2 separate regions of the Homo sapiens genome follow, and region 1 is linked to region 2. Evidence: promoter capture Hi-C in 16 types of primary human blood cells and fetal thymus (Javierre and others, 2016). All regions are on one chromosome and are shown on one strand. Each heading gives the region's core, a stretch centred on a gene start or on the middle of the fragment in contact. The rest is flanking DNA. Distances are from core to core; before and after follow the strand shown.

What was found. Contacts are between HindIII fragments. The CHiCAGO score rates a contact against its expected background, and 5 or more counts as called.
Region 1: a fragment that was not itself captured here is called in contact with the fragment with the promoter of CXorf65 in region 2 in 2 of 17 cell types (naive CD4 T cells and M2 macrophages); the score reaches 5.7 in naive CD4 T cells.

Annotation. Positions count from the first base shown.
Region 1 is chrX:71,344,850-71,348,688 of GRCh38, forward strand. LOC124905198 (a long non-coding RNA gene) reads left to right here and starts at 3,115. Exons shown (of 3, transcript XR_007068263.1): 1 at 3,115-3,820. The HindIII fragment of the contact is 5,105 bases long and covers 1-3,839 here.
Region 2 is chrX:71,104,557-71,108,014 of GRCh38, forward strand. CXorf65 (chromosome X open reading frame 65) reads right to left here and starts at 2,184. Exons shown (of 6, transcript NM_001025265.3): 1 at 1,976-2,184; 2 at 1,784-1,870; 3 at 1,444-1,581; 4 at 213-281. The coding sequence starts at 2,000. It overlaps IL2RG (interleukin 2 receptor subunit gamma), which reads right to left. Exons shown (of 8, transcript NM_000206.3): 8 at 2,848-3,365. The coding sequence ends at 3,180. The HindIII fragment of the contact is 6,290 bases long and covers 1-3,458 here.

The sequences.
Region 1 (3,839 bases), core at 460-2,959, 240 kb after region 2:
GGTTTCTCCATGTTGGTCAGGCTGGTCTCGAACTCCCGACCTCAGGTGATCTGCCTGCCTCGGCCTCCCAAAGTGCTGGGATTATAGTCATGAGTCACCGCACCCGGCCAACAATTATTTATTTATTTATTTTTCCGATGGAGTCTCACTCTGTCACCCAGGCTGGAGTGCAGTGGCATGATCTTGGCTCACTGCAACCTCCAACTCCTGGGTTCAAGCGATTCTCGTGCCTTAGCCTCCCGAGTAGCTGGGATTACAGGTGCGTGCCACCATGCCCGGCTAATTTTTGTATTTTTAATGGAGACAGGGTTTACACCATGTTGGCCAGGCTAGTCTTGAACTCCTGACCTCAAGTGATCCACCCACCTCGGCTTCTAAAAGTGCTGGGATTACAGGCATGAGCCACCATGCCCAGTCAGCTCAACAATAGCACACTGTTCTTTGTTCTCTTTTTCCATTCTGATGCTAGAGTTTGATAGTAGGGGAGGTTGTGGGGTGCAGCACGGAATATATGGGAACTCTCTGTACTTTCCACTTGATTTTACTGTGAACTTAAAATTGCTCTAAAAAATAAAGTCTATTTTTGGTAGAAACAGGGTTTCATCGTGTTGCCCAGGCTAGTCTCAAACTCCTGAGCTCATGCAATCTGCCCACTTCAGCCTTGCAAAGTGCTGGAATTATTAGGCATGGGCCACTGTGCCCAACCTGGAAATATATTAATGTAAGGTTTGTTTTTTTTTTGAGGGAGTCTCGCTCTATTGCCCAGGCTGGAGTGCAGTGGCATGATCTCGGCTCACTGTAATCTCCACCTCCCAGGTTCAAGCGATTCTCCTGCCCCAGCCTCCCGAGTAGCTGGGACTACAGGCATGCACCACCACACCTGGCCAATTTTTGTATTTTTAGTAGAGATGGGGTTTTGCCATGTTGGCCAGGCTGGTCTCGCACTCCTGACCTCAGATGATCTGCCTGCCTCAGCCTACCAGTGTGCTGAGATTACAGGCGTGAGCAACCGCACCTGGCCTATTAATGTAAGGCTGTTACACTCTCTGTGAAATAGTATAATATTTGAAGGTAGATGGAGATAGGTTAAAAATGTCTCTATAAACCTGTAAGCAACCACTAAAACAAGGAGGAATAGCTAATAACCCAATATAGGAGATATAATGGAATAAAAGTAATATTGACTAATCCAAAAGAAGTCAGAAAAAGAGAACAAAGAGATGGGACGAATAAAAACAAGATGATAGACCCAAATCTAATTATATTAACAATCATTAAACTTAGATGTTCTTAACACCCTAATTACAGGGTAGAGATGATCAGATTGGGTAGAAAAGCAAGATTTGCCAGGTGCAGTGGTTCACACCTATAATTTCAGCACTTTGGGAGCTGAAGGCAGGTGTATTGCTTGAGCCCAGGAGTTCAAGACCAGCCTGGGCAACACAGAGACCTGTCTCTGCAAAAAGTAAAACTAGACAGGTGGCTGGGCACGGTGGCTCACGCCTGTAATCCTAGCACTTTGGGAGGCCGAGAAGAGCAGATCACCTGAGGTCAGGAATTTGAGACCAACCTGGCCAACATGGCGAAGCCCCCTCTCTACTAAAAATACAAACATTAGCCAGGTGTGGTGGCGCGTGCCTGTAGTCTCAGCTACTTAGGAGGCTGAGGCAGGAGAATCGCTTGAACCCGGGAGGTGGAGGTTGCAGTGAGCCGAGATTGCACCACTGCACTCCAGCCTGGATAACAGAGCGAGACTCTGTCTCAACAAAACAAAACAAAACATAACAAAACAAAACAGCAAAGACACAGGCCGCATGCATAATTCTAACACTTTGGGAGGCTGAGGTGGGCAGATCACTTGAGCCCAAGAGTTCGAGACCAGCCTGGGCAACATGGTGAAACCCTGTCTCTACAAAAAATACAAAAATTAGCTGGGCATGGTGGTGCTCGCCTGTAGTGGAGAGGCTGTGGTGGGAGGATCACCTGAGCCCAGGAGGTGGAGGCTGGGGTGAGCTGTGGTCATATCACTGCACTCCAGCCTAGGGACAGAGTGAGATTCTGTCTCAAAAAATAAATGAATAAAGAAATAAAATTAATTAAAAATTTTAAATTTATTTTAAAATTATAAAAACAATAAATAAAAATTAAAAATGTAATATACCAAAAACCACTGAATTGTAAATTTTAAATGGTGTATGAATTTATATCTCAGTAAAGCTGTACGATTCCATTTATATAAAACTCTTGGAAATTCAAACTAATGTACACTGATAGAAAGGAACTGTAATTCTCGCACTACCTCATTGTCTTTTTTTTTTTTTAAGATTATATTTGTTTTGGAGACTGGGCTCTCGCGATGTTGCCTAGGCTGGACTTGAACTCCTGGGCTCAAGCGATCCTCTCCCACTCAGCCTCCAGAGTAGCTGGGACTACAGGCGGGCACCACCACACTCGGTTTGTGTTTTTGTTTATCTTTTTAAGAATTATTTTATTAAAAAAAATTATTTTTTGGTTTGTTTGTTGAGACAGAGTTTCGTTCTTGTTGCCCAAGCTGGAGCGCAATGGTGCGATTTTGGCTCATTGCAAGTTCAAGTGATTCGCGTGCCTCAGTCTCCTGAGTAGCTGGGATTACAGGCATGCACCGCCACGCCTGGCTAATTTTGTATTTTTAGTACAGATGGGGTTTCACCATGTTGGTCAGGCTGGTCTCGAACTCCTGACCTCAGGTCATCGCACCTCTGTCTCCCAAAGTGTTGGGATTACAGGCGTGAGCCACCGCACCTGGCCTTTTTTTTTTTTTTTTTTTTTGAGATGGAGTTTTGCTCTTGTCACCCAGGCTGGAGTGCAATGGCATGATCTTGGCTCACTGCAACCTCGGCCTCCCGAGTTCAAGCGATTCTCCTGCCTCAGCCTCCCGAGCAGCTGGGATTATAGGCGCATGCCACTATACCCGGCTAATTTTTGTATTTTTAGTAGAGATGGGGTTTCATCATGTTGGTCAGGCTGGTCTCGAACTCCTGACCTCAGTTGATCCCCTCCCCCTCCCCCCATCGCCACCTCGGCCTCCCAAAGTGCTGAGATTACAGGCGTGAGCCATCGCGCCCACCCAAATTTTTTTTTTTTACCTCATTGTCTTTACTTACTTTTTTTTTTTCTCTCAAATACTTTCTCATGTCCGTGTCTCTTTAAGTTCATATTAGTCCAAAGGAGAAAATAGGACTTGGGGATCTGGGGAACACGGGGTGGTCTCACTTTGCCAAGGGAAAGATGAGGTTTGGGGGTTCCTGGGCTGAGTAACTCGTACTGAGGTCGCGATCTAAGTAGTCCTCGATTACCTGAAGATGTAGTGTAGAAGCCTGTGACTTACAGTGAGGCTGGCCCTAGAACTTCACTTCCCAGGAGGTTTCAGGCATCGAGTGGAGACTGTGTCCGACAGCGGAGTGGGACTTGGTCGCAGTTCGCAGAACCTGCCCAGCCCAACTCAAGACGCCCGGGAGGCTCTGGCGTTCGAATGGCTCTGGAGAACGATCGGATTGAGAACCCCCGAGCCAATCCCTAACTGCGATCTTCTCTCTCCGAGTCTCCCTATCCCCCAGGAGCTTGTTTTAGAGACGGTTGTCTTATGAGCCACTCCCTGGATGGAAGGGATTTGAGGATGGGGTGAGGTGTGTGTACGTCAGGGAGACTGAGCCAGCTTTCCTGTATGTGAATCTGATGGAGGGTACCTCTCTGTCCCAGCCTCACACGTCCATGTGAAGCCCCGGAATCAACTACCCTTGGTGGAGAAGGATGTGTGTGAAGTGTCAAACGGGCTTGTGGTGTAAGTTGATGGATCACTA
Region 2 (3,458 bases), core at 934-3,433:
GCCAAGAAATGGGGGAAGTGGGGAGTAACGCATGCACATTCCACCTGGTGTGAGCTAAACGTCCCTCCTAAAGTGGACCTGGACCCTGCCCGCCTTTTCCTAGGCTCCTATCATCTGACCTACCATATCACGCTAGTCCCACCCTACATTCTCCATCACACAGCTATATACTGTACCCTTCATGTTCTTCCCTCCCCCATCTCACTTCTTACCAAGCAGCCAAGGCTCCGGATTCTTGAGGAGAGGCACAAAAGCTCTGTAAGCATTCTCCAGCCTGGTTCCTGTGAACATAGCCATGTGCTATCTCCAGCCCCTGTCATCCAGTCTCCACCCTTCAGAAGTCCAAGATTCCAGGACCTAACACTAAAGACTACCCGCCAGATGCGGTGGCTCACGCCTGTAATCCCAGCATTTTGGGAGGCCAAGGTGGGCGGATCACTTGAGGTCAGGAGTTCCAGACTAGCCTGGCCAATTCGAGACTAGCCTGGCCAATTTGGTGAAACCCCATCTCTACCAAAAATACAAACAAACAAAAAAAATTAGCTGGGCATGGTGGTGGGCGCCTGTAATCCCAGCTACTCCGGAGGCTGAGGCAGGAGAATCACTTGAACCCAGGAGGCAGAGGTTGCAGTGAGCCAAGATCATGCCACTGTTTCAGCCTGGGTGACAGAGCAAGACTCCATCACAAAAAATAAAATAAATAAATAAATAAAAATAAAGACTACCTTGCCGGGCACAGTGGCTCACGCCTGTAATCCCAGCACTTTGGGAGGCTGAGGTGGGTGGATCACCTGAGGTCAGGAGTTCAAGACCAGCTTGGCCAACATGGTGAAACCCCATCTGCACTAAAAAATTAGTTGGGCCTGGTGGCGGGTGCCTGTAGTCCCAGCTACTCAGGAGGCTAAGACAGGAGAATCGCTTGAACCTGGGAGGCAGAGGTTGCAGTGAGCTGAGATCGCGCCATTGCACTCCAGCCTGGACAACTGGACAACAAGAGCGAAACTCTGTCCCAAAAAAAAAAAAAAAAAAACCTACCTTGAGCTGGTGGATATTTCTTCCCCTTAGGTATGGACCTAGGGGAGAGTATGTGTGAGGTAACCTATTATTATAGAGGCAGTACCCTTCCTTAGGCTGACTAGAGATGGTCAATTTGGATCTGGTTGAGGGTGTTCTGTTGTTTGAGGGTGTTCTGTTTTTTGTTTTAATTTGGTTTTGGTTGTTTTTGGTTTTGGTTTTGGTTTTGGAGGCAGGCTCTTGTTATGTTGCCCAGGCTGGTCTCAAACTCCTGCCCTCTATCGATTCTCCCGCCTTGGCCTCTCAAAGTGCTGAGATTACAAGCATGAGCCACTATGCCCAGCCTTGGATGCCTTGTTTTAAAGATAAGGTTCATAATCTATCTTGAAGGCCTTATTCTATTTCTGGGGAACACTCCTGAGCCTCTACCTGGTGGCCCACGTTCCACCTTACAAACGTAGTAGGTGCTTCGAGCTGTAAGGTATTTGCTGGCATACTCTGCATGATTGGGCTTCATCAGGAAAAGCATCTTCATTTTCCCCGTTTGTTCACACAAATCGATGGTGTCTGGAGGGAGATCACAGGGTAATTGGGGCAGCTAAGGAAAGAGAGTGGGAGCAAAAGGGGCCAGTGATCCTATACAAAATGGGTTGGAGGAAGCTCTAAGGATATGAGGAACTCCCTTCTTGCCAGGAGGAGGGCTTGGGGGTTAGAGATGACCCAACTCCTTCTGACCTTTGGCCATTAGTCCCCTCCCTAAGCTCCTCACTTGTTTTAGGCAACTTTACTTTACTGCGGATGTAATACAGCAACACGACGACAGCACAGTTGGTATTGACCAGAAACTGCTGATTATCTGAGAAGAGATAGGATGGGACACATGGGCCCATTTCTGTGATCTCCACTGCCCTCAGATCCCTCCACCCCCATCCACAGACTCTAGTTCTGTGCTGCCCCTCACCTCCATGTTTGATGAAGATGAACATGCCCTCAAGATCGCCTCACTCTTCACAAAGTGCCCTGATGAGTCATGCAGAAGGAGGGTGTTCTAGAGGCCTTGTGTGGGGCAAATAGGCCTATAGGGTTGGTGGACTAGAGAGGCAGATGGATTTCATAGGCTGAGGATGCCCAGGCTGGACAGGCAGGAGAGAGCTGTTGATAGTTGTGGATAACCAGTATCCCCAGGGGTGGGGCCTGAGACTGCAGTTAAGGGATTATGAGGTCAGAAGTGGCAGGTGTGGCCAAAAAGTGGAGTAAGGGTAAGGAGAGAAAAACTTGGGTGGGGTATGTTAAAGATTAGTTGGAAAGGGGGGACAACATGGTAAGTCTAACTTTTTTTATTTTTTTTATTTTTTTAGATGGAGTCTCCCTCTGTCGCCCAGGCTGGAGTGCAGTGGCACAATCTTGGCTCACTGCATCCTCTACCTCCTGGGTTCAAGCGATTCTCCTGCCTCAGCCTCCCAAGTAGCTGGAATTACAGGAGCACACCATCACGCCTGGCTAATTTTTGTATTTTTAGTAGAGACGGGGTTTCACCATGTTGGCCAGGCTGGTCTCGATCTCCTGACCTCGTGATCCACCCGCTTTGGCCTCCCAAAGTGCTGGGATTACAGGCGTGAGCCACCACGCCCAGCCCATTGTAAGTCTAACTCTAAACTAAACCCTGGAATGAGTGCAGGGCACCTGGAAAAAAGTCAGTTTCCAGAACAGTACTCTTTCTAGCAAATTGGTAATACTCCTGCCTCCACAGCATGAATGTACTACTCCTTTTTCTTCCCCTCCCACCCTCATTGCATCCCAGGCTTCCCCTGCTCCCCACCCCCATGACAGACATTTTTGATGATTATCAACAGAAACTTTATTTCTCATCGGTTCAGGAACAATCGGAGGGTAGATGGAAAGAGGAAGGGAGGGAAAGAGGGAGGGAGGAAGAATCCTGCGAAAAGGAAGGGCCAGACTGAGGGAGAAGAAAAACATGTTCGGGGCAAAAGGGTAATTCTCAAGTGGGGAATGCCAAATGAAGGGGTGCTTACATGGGGGCACAAAATTCCAAATCAGCCACAGTGGGGTGAGGTGAGTATGAGACGCAGGTGGGTTGAATGAAGGAAAGTTAGTACCACTTAGGGCTACAGGACCCTGGGGTTCTTCTGTCAGAGGATTGGGGTTCAGGTTTCAGGCTTTAGGGTGTAACATGGGGGGGCCCAGTAGGGGCTATGCTGGTTGCATGGGGAGGCCCCAGGCCCCTCCCCAAGGGCCCCTCCTTTTGGGGGAATCTCACTGACGAGGCAGAGTCGTTCACTGTAGTCTGGCTGCAGACTCTCAGCCAGTCCCTTAGACACACCACTCCAGGCCTAAAGACAGATATGTCCAGGTCAGGGGTCAATTAGGGGCAGGAAGTAAAAGACCGAGCTCTGTGCCAAAGGAGTACTCATGATGTCTGCAAC